Linked DNA regions of Homo sapiens: region 1 is linked to region 2. The links are contacts of gene promoters, found by promoter capture Hi-C in blood cells and fetal thymus (Javierre and others, 2016). All regions are on one chromosome and are shown on one strand. The core of a region is centred on a gene start or on the middle of the fragment in contact, and the rest is flanking DNA. Distances in the headings are between cores, read along the strand shown. Region 1 has its middle 18 kb from the start of LINC03086. Region 2 holds the start of TGM6 (transglutaminase 6).

Region 1 (4,457 bases), core at 1,866-4,365, 190 kb after region 2:
TATTTACTTACTTATTTTGTTGAAACAGAGTCTCGCTCTGTCACTCAGGCTGGAGTGCAGTGGTGTGATTTCTGCTTACTGCAACCTCCACCTCCTGGGTTCAAGCGATTCTCCTGCCTCAGCCTCCCAAGTAGCTAGGATTACAGGCGTCCACCACCATGCTCAGCTAATTTTTTGTTTTGTTTTGTTTTGTTTTGTTTTGTTTGTCTGTTTGTTTTTTGAGATGGAGTGTCCCTCTGTTGCCAGGCTGGAGTGCATGGCACAATCTTGGCTCACTGCAACCTCCGCCTCCCGGGTTCAAGCGATTCTCCTCACTCCGCCTCTCGAGTAGCTGGGACTACAGGCGCATGCCACCATGCCTGGCTAATATTTATATTTTTAGCAGAGACAGGGTTTCACCATGTTGGCCAGGATGGTCTCGATTTCTTGACCGCATAATCCACCCGCCTCGGCCTCCCAAAGTGCTGGGATTACAGGTGAGAGCCACTGTGCCCAGTCAGGAATTTTTTTTAACCTCACATAACAAGAAATTGAAGAAGTCAGTAGGCAGGGTTGGCTAATTAAAAGATCTGAGTCCCATCTTTGAAACAATTTCTGGAATAGCCGTCTGAGGAGCTGTGTAGATATTTCCCTGGTGAAAAAAACTGTACCTTGTAAAAATTATTTTTAAAAAGAAGCATTTATAGTCTCTGGAAACTGTCTTAAAGATATATAGCAAATAGAGCAGGCACGGTGGCTCATGCCTGTAATCCCAGCACTGTGGGAGGCCGAGGCAGGCAGATTACGTGAGGTCAAGAGTTTGAGACCAGACTGACCAACATGGTGAAACCCCATCTCTACTAAAAATACAAAAATTAGCTGGGTGTGGTGGCACACACCTGTGTAATCTCAGCTACTTGGGAGGCTGAGGCAGGAGAATCTCTTGAACCTGGGAGGCGGAGGTTGCAGTGAGCCGAGATCATGCCACTGCATTCCAGCCTGGGCGACAGAGTGAGACTCCATCACTCTATCACTCACTCTAGGAAAAAAAAAAAAAGAAGAAGAAGAAAGGCATATAGCAAATAAAGAAACATTTCATGGTAAGAATAGCATGCATCTGGGGTATCTGAGCCATAGCCTGTTCCTTTCCGCTTCCCCCAGCTCAGCACGATGAAGCTCTGCCACAGGTGGGTGCAGACAAGAACATAGGATTTCCTCTTCCCCCAGAGGGCAGGAATATTGCAGGTTACCAGAAACACTTATTCCCCTAGCTCTATGTTGTAGAAGCTAAATTCCAGGCAAGAGCAGCTGAGAGATCTGGAGTTCCTTTCTCTACCCAGTCCCCGCTCACTCACAGGGTAGGAGCTCTACCCGAGACTTGTCAGTCTGAGAATACTGGGACCCTGATTGCCCTCGTTTCATGTTGCTCATAAGGGAGAAGTTCTGCACTGAGAGAGGCAAACTGAGCAGACCAGAGACAACCACCACCACAAGCACACTACTTGTAAAGTCTGGATATTGCTGCAAGAGGAAGAGGCTGCTGTCTTTACCCCTAGCTCTGAAGCAGTGGTGTAGAGATTTTGTCTAGAGGGAGAGAGAGGCCTTCAGAACAGAGAGCTTCAATGTTCTCCCCTAGGGGAACAGGCTTTATTGTGAACAGAGTGTAGAGGGAAGTTCAAATCAAATGATATGAACAAAATATGAATGTGGGGCAAGGAGAGGTAACTGGTGGTAATTAAACAATGGATCTTTTGGTGGTAAGAAATTACGAGGAGACAAGTAGCTTCTTGAAAAAAAGAAGCTAAACCTAAACCATCTAGTAGTTTAACACGAATAATCAGGGAAAGAGACAGTTAAGAAAAGCTCTTTGGGATCAGAACAAGACTCAAAAACTGGCCTTAAAGACTACCCCTGTAAAGGGGCCCAAATATCACAGAATCCTATTGTAGAGCAATTTTTGCCTCACAGCACTGTCAAAAACAATAGAACAATCAACCATCAATTGGTAGAAGCTAATATCTAGGTATGATACCAACAGAGGCAGACAGCATAACAGAGATAAAGGAAAAAGACAGTCAAAGAGAGCCCTGCTAAAACCAGTGGCATCCTAGAGAGGCTGTGCTCATGCCCAAGGCTGAGCTCTTTGAGGAACAACATCAGATGCTGCACCCTGTGAGGGAAATAGACTTTCCTGAAATATAAAAAGAATATTTATTATGGAAGAAAGCTTTATTTCTCTTGTCCTTTCATATTGGGAGAAATATTGAATACATAGAAAGAGTGCTGGATTGCTCTAGCAAAGTTACTAACCAAATAAACAAGCAAACAACAAATCTGTGGGAGCATGGAGAACTGGTATTCAGAGTTGCTACAACATATTATCTAAAATGTCCACTTTTCAAAAAAATTGTTCAGTACCATAGGAAAGGTAAAAAAAAAATTGTGAGACATGCAAAGAATTATATAAATATGTGGAAAAGCAACAAAACACTCTAAAGCAGCACTCAGATTGAAATTTATAGCTGTTAACATGTATATTCAAAAAGAAGAAAAACCTCAAATCAACAGCCCCATGTTCCACTTTAAGAAACAAGAAAAAGAAGAGCAAACTAAAGCTAAATGAAAGAAATAGTAAATATAGAGTAGAAAGAAGTGAAATAGACAGAAAAACAATAGAGAAAAACCCAACAAAACCCAAACTAGTTCTTGGAAAGATGAACAGCATTGATAAACTTTTAGCTAGATTGATCAAAAAACAAAAAAGAGAGAGAAAAACTCACATTACTAAAATGAGGAATCAAAGGGGGGACATTACAAAATCTAAAAAGGAATATTGTTAACAATTATATACCAACAAATTAGGTAAACTAGATGAAACACACAGACTCCTAAAAAGAAACAACCATCAAAACCGTCTCAAGAAAAAATAGAAAATCTGATAGATCTATAACAAGTAAAGATACTGAATCAGAAAACTTATCACAAAGAAAAGTTCTGGCTCAGATGGCTTGGTAAACTCTATCAAATGTTTAAGGAAGAATTAACATCAATCTCTCACAAACTCTTCAAAAAAATATAGAAAGAGAGAACACTTCCCAACTCCTATGAAACCAATATTACCCTGATACTAAAATCAGGCAAAGACATTACAAGAAAGTTACAGATCAATATCTCTCATAAATATAGATGCAATAATCTTCAACAAAATTCCTGTAAATCAAGTCTAGCAACATATAGAAAGTATTATAAACCACAACCAAGTGGGATTTATCCCAGGAATGCAAGGCTGGTTTAACATCCAAAAATCAATTCATGTAATATACAATATTAATAGAACAAAGGAGAAAAACAACATGGTCATTTCAACAGAGGCAGAAAAGCATTTGGGAAAATACAACACTTCTATGATTTTAAAACATCAACAAGCTAGAAACACAAAAGAATTTTCTCAACTTGATAAAGGGCCTCTATCAAAAACCCACATTTACCATCATTCATAATGATGAAAAACTGAATACTTTCCCCTTAAGATCAAGAACAAGAAAAAGATGTCCATTCTCAACACTTCTATTTGCCACTTCTTTTTTTGTTGTTTTTTGTGTTTGTTTTATCCTTAGCAAACTAACGCAGGATATTTGCCACTTCTATTCTGGAGGTTATAACCAGAAAAAACAGGCAAGAAAAATAAATACAGACATTTAACTTGGAGAGGAAGAAGTAAAACTATTTTTACTAAACATGACATAATTTTGTATAGAGAAAACCTTTAAAAATCACTCAAAACTATTATAATAAATGAACAAGTCAGCAACTATGCAGGATACAAGGTAAATATACAAAAATCAATTGTATTTCTATATGCCAGCAACAAACAATCTAAAAATGAAATTTAGAAAACAATTTAAGAGATAAACCTGGAATCCTAAATAAGTGGGAACAACCTGAAAGTCCATCAAGTGATTAATGGATAAATAAAATGTGATATACCCATACAATGGAATCTTATTTAGCAATAAAAAGGAATGAAATACTGATATAAGCTTCAACATGGATGAACTTGAAAATATTATGCTAAGCGAAAGAAGCCAGCAAGAAAAGGCCACATGTCATATGATTCCATTATACAAAATGTTCAAAATAGGCAAATCTATGCAGACAGAAAGCAATTTAATGGCTGCCTAGGGTTGGGGAAGTTGAGAGGAAGTGGCAAGCTACTGTTAATGGTAAATTATTTCCGTAGTGATGAAAATATTCTAAAATTGTCTGGAGTAATGGTCGCACAACTTTGTGAATACACTTAAAACCATCGAAGTAGGTCTATCATATGGTATGTGAATTATATGTCAATAAAGCTGTTCTTTAAAAGTTTCATCTTTGTTGTATTTAGTGTCAGATTGTTTTCATCTAACTTCCTCATAGTCATAAAACTACTGCCATGGCTCCAGGTATCATATCTTCATGAGACAATATCTAGAGTA
Region 2 (4,034 bases), core at 1,528-4,027:
TCAGAGTGTTTTTCAGCTCAACCTGTTCAATCCATCCCATCACTATGGAGAAACTGAGGTTCAGAGAGGAGAAGGGACTTTTCTGAGTGTCAGCATGTCATTTTCCCTGCTCAAGCACCATGGAATCTACAGCCATCTTGTTGGCATTGAAGGTCCTTGACAGTCAGGCCCTGCCCATCACTTCTGGCCCTCTGACCTCCTCCCCAACTAATTTGCTCACCAGCTGGCCCCAGAGCTCCACCTAAGAAAGGGAAGGGTCCATGTGCAGAACATTGCCTCCTGCCGACTTAGCTCTCCACCCATCCCCACCCCCAAGCCTAGCTCATCCATCTTCCTCCTCCTGCCCTTGGGTGATACCAGAGAGCTGAATGATACAATCCTCCCCAATTCTTTGTCTCAGGCCAGTGGGCTTGAGCCCTGGAAACTCTGTTGAAGCCAGTGGCATCTTCCAGACTCTGGACTAAGCATAATTGGTTTTTAATGGGCCCCATTATAATCCTATGCTTAGTACGCATCATGAGCACCTGAACTCCATGACTAAATGATTTATCGAGAGTTGCCTGGGGCCTTTCTGGGGCCACTGCCCCATCTCTCTTTCCTTCCTGGTCTTGTTGGAAGCTGCTGGCCTCTCTTTCACCAGGAGGCAGTGACTCATCAACTCCAACCCAATGTCCCAGCCAGAGCCAGCCTCACATACAGTATTCCACTCAATTCTTGGAATCTCTGAGCTGAAAGATGATTGTAATTTAATCATGGCAAAAGGGTCTCACCTCCTTTGCCAACACTGATCAACTGGTACTTAAAGAGCTGGGTTGAGCATTCTGGGGCCACATCCAGGCTCCAGAGGGAAGAGCTCTGGGGTCAACTAGGGATGTCCACCATGGATGGAGTGAGGGAGGGGGGATAGAAGGAGCTCCAGGAAGATGAATACACTTTCCATCTAGGATCTGATGTCTCAGTCATTCAGGCACAGAGTGTGTGGTAGGCAGGACCTACTGCTCTGAGGAACAGATCCTCCCAAGAAGCCAAGAGGACCCAGAAGACCCAGGAATTGAATCCAATCCAACACATAGTCCATTTACATAGGCATGACAACTCCAATGCTGACATTTCACAGACGGAGAAACAGAGCTTCAGAGAGAGGAACCCAGCAAGTTAGTTACAGACCTGACAATGGGCATCATCATCAACTTTTTTCCTTCCTCAGAAACTAACCTTCGCACTGTCAAGTTTAAGTCTGATAGGTTATCAAAGGCCCAGGGAAGAGGGATCATCTAGGTGAACTTTGAGAAGCAGATCTTGGAGGAACAAAGGCAATCCCCTCTGCACCAGGGCCATCAGGGAGGCAACCCCAGCTCTGGAAACAGGCAGTCTGGGCTGTGAGCTGGTGTTGGCAAGGCCTGGTCTTCAGAACAGACCTATCCTAGGAGCCTGAAGGGCCCAACACGTCCAGCAATGCTGTTAACTGCCAGGAGGAAATATGAAGAGGAAGCTAGACTATGATGAGGAAATTCAAATATCTGCCTTTGAAAGTTAAAAAAATATTTGATTCATAAAACTGTCACATAATGCTGAACAATTAAAACTGGCAGACACAGACTCAGAAACACCCCTTGAATACCTGTGAGTGTAGGACCCCTGGTTCTGCTGACTTGCTCATTACCGGGCCCCAGCATCTAAGACAAGTTCTTGCAGAGGGAGTTTGCTGCTCACTATATTGAGGTCGTGGGGGACACATTATCTTACTTTCTTTTTTTTTTGAGACAGGGTCTCACTCTGTTGCCCAGCCTGCAGTGCAGTGGCACCATCTTGGCTCACTGTAGCCTCTACCTCCTAAGCTCAAGCGATCCTCTCACCTCAGCCTCCCAAGTAGCTGGGACTTTGGGTGTTCCCCACCATGCCTAGCTAATTGTTGTATTTTTTTGTAGAGACGGGGTTTTGCCACATTGCCCAGGCTGGTCTCAAACTCCTGAGCTCAAGAATTCCACCCCCTTCAGCCTCCCAAAATGCTGGGATTAGAGGCGTGAGCCACTGTGCCCGACCCACATTTTCTGAGTCTACTGTTTACAAGTCCCCACTTGAGATGTGTGGTGGGAGAACAGCACACGTGGTCTCACCAACTCCTCACAGCAAGGCTGTGAGATAATTTGCATTATAATCCCCATTACACAGATCAGAAAACAGAGGTACCAAGGGCAAATTTTCTTGCTCAAGGTCATATAGCTGTTTTCACTTGAGCCAGAGCTGCTCTTGCCCTCAAGTGCTTGGGGTGGGAATCAGGCGAGGATGCAGCCGGTGGGGGCCTCTCACTCCTTCCCACGCAGGCCACAATTCCCAACTATGCCCAGAAACGTCTCTGGATCCATGGAATGTGCATGGGGTGCAAGGAGATTTTCTTTTTTCTGCCCCTGCCTTCCTGTGCCTGCCTCCTTCAGTCCTCCGAGGCACAGGGGTGAGACCTGGCCCCAGCCCAGGAGACAGCGCCTGAGCCAGCCTGGGCCATGGCCTTGCTGGGTGGCTTAAAGCTGGCTTTTTCATCCTGGGCCTCATGAATCCACACGAAGAGTTCATGTGTTCATGGTGGACTATCCAGCTGTAAAATCCTAACAATCGATGATCAAACGTCATCCCACAGACCCGTGTTTCTTGAAGCCCCCCTCATGAGCCCTGGTGTCCCAAGGCCCCAGGCTCTGCCCACTTACCTGCCATGTGAAGGCCAGCTGGACTCCTCTGTTCCTCCACACAGCAGTGTGTGCACCGTCAGGACAGTGTGGCGCGTCACAGCAGCCAGCCAGACCAATTTTAACAAGGAAAACCTTGGGACACTCCTAGGCAGGAAAGTCAGAATTCAAAAGAGGAGGCGTGGCCCTCCACCCTAGCAGCGACACCCACGAGACACAAAATCATCCTGTAATTGCACCTAGAGGGGTTCACTGTGGGAGTGGCTCCTGCCAAGAGACCTTGGAAACACGGAGTTGCGAATGGGACTGTGGAGAAACTGAGGCTCAGAAAGGTCACAAGCCTGGCAAGAAAAAGAACGGGGAAAGAGAGAAGACTGAGGGAACTCGGATTTATGGTTGGCCATTCTTAGCCCTCACAACAACCCTCAAATGAGAAAAAACAGGCTCAGCGCCAGGACCCCGAAGTACATGGTTGCACGCTGCAGTGCCGGGTCAGTCTGTGGCTCCCTCTCCCCTCCTGGGTGAGAGCAGAAGACTCCTGGGCCCACAGCTCCACTCTGTTCTGCAGGCATCTAAAGAGGCAGAGGTCCATGATCCTCCTTCAGGGCCACTAGACTTCCTTGGTGGACACTAGACTCTTGAGAGGAGGTAGATAAGAAAAAGGGGAGAGCTGGTTCTGACTCAGAAGCTAGGCCCATCTGCCCTGACTTTGTGAGTGGCCTCCAGCCAGGAGCTTAGAGGCCTGGTGGCCATGGGTGTCCCGTGACCTTGGACAAGACCTCTCCCCTCCTGGAACCCTGGTGTTTCTACCTACAAACTAAAGGGATTGGACTCAATTATTCTTCAGGGCCATTCCAGCTCAAAGTCTAAGATTCTGGGCTTGAAGGTGCTGGAATTCAAGGCATCTGAGGTCTTTTGTTAATGAAATAGAGGGGATTTTATTTTCATGGAAGCCGGTGGGGTAGGTTTCTTTTTGCCGGAGAAATGCTTTGATGGATGACTTGGGGCTATCGAAGGCTGGATGTGGCCTGGGCCAGTGAGGAAGGGGAAGTGGGAGGGGGTAGAATCGAGGGAAAGAGACAAGGAAGGGTAAGGAGACAACCGTGTGCTGAGCACAGTAGGATGAGGCCGCTCCCTGGGATCACCCCAACATTCAGGAAACTGCATAAAAACCCCAAAGTGTTTGATGTGGTTGGATTTCTTACAGAAAGTGGCAAAGAGGCTGAGTTCTGCTTCCTGGTTTCACGCAGATCAAGCGTCTTTAATGAGCTGTCTGCAGACCCACATAGCCTTATAATTACTGACATCTGGCAGCAGCCCAGGGCAGCTCCTTCCTCAACACCCTGCAGGCTG

The links. The method cuts DNA at HindIII sites, captures the fragments that hold promoters and counts their contacts. A CHiCAGO score of 5 or more calls a contact.
Region 1: a contact is called between a fragment that was not itself captured here and the fragment with the promoter of TGM6 in region 2, in 1 of 17 cell types (M1 macrophages). The highest score is 5.1, in M1 macrophages.

The regions. Positions count from the first base shown.
Region 1 is chr20:2,186,225-2,190,681 of GRCh38, reverse strand. No RefSeq gene overlaps it. Among named protein-coding and RNA genes, the nearest start is that of LINC03086, 18 kb to the left of the region's middle. The HindIII fragment of the contact is 1,813 bases long and covers 2,209-4,021 here.
Region 2 is chr20:2,379,644-2,383,677 of GRCh38, reverse strand. TGM6 (transglutaminase 6) reads right to left here and starts at 2,777. Exons shown (of 13, transcript NM_198994.3): 1 at 2,703-2,777. The coding sequence starts at 2,709. The HindIII fragment of the contact is 23,923 bases long and covers 1-4,034 here.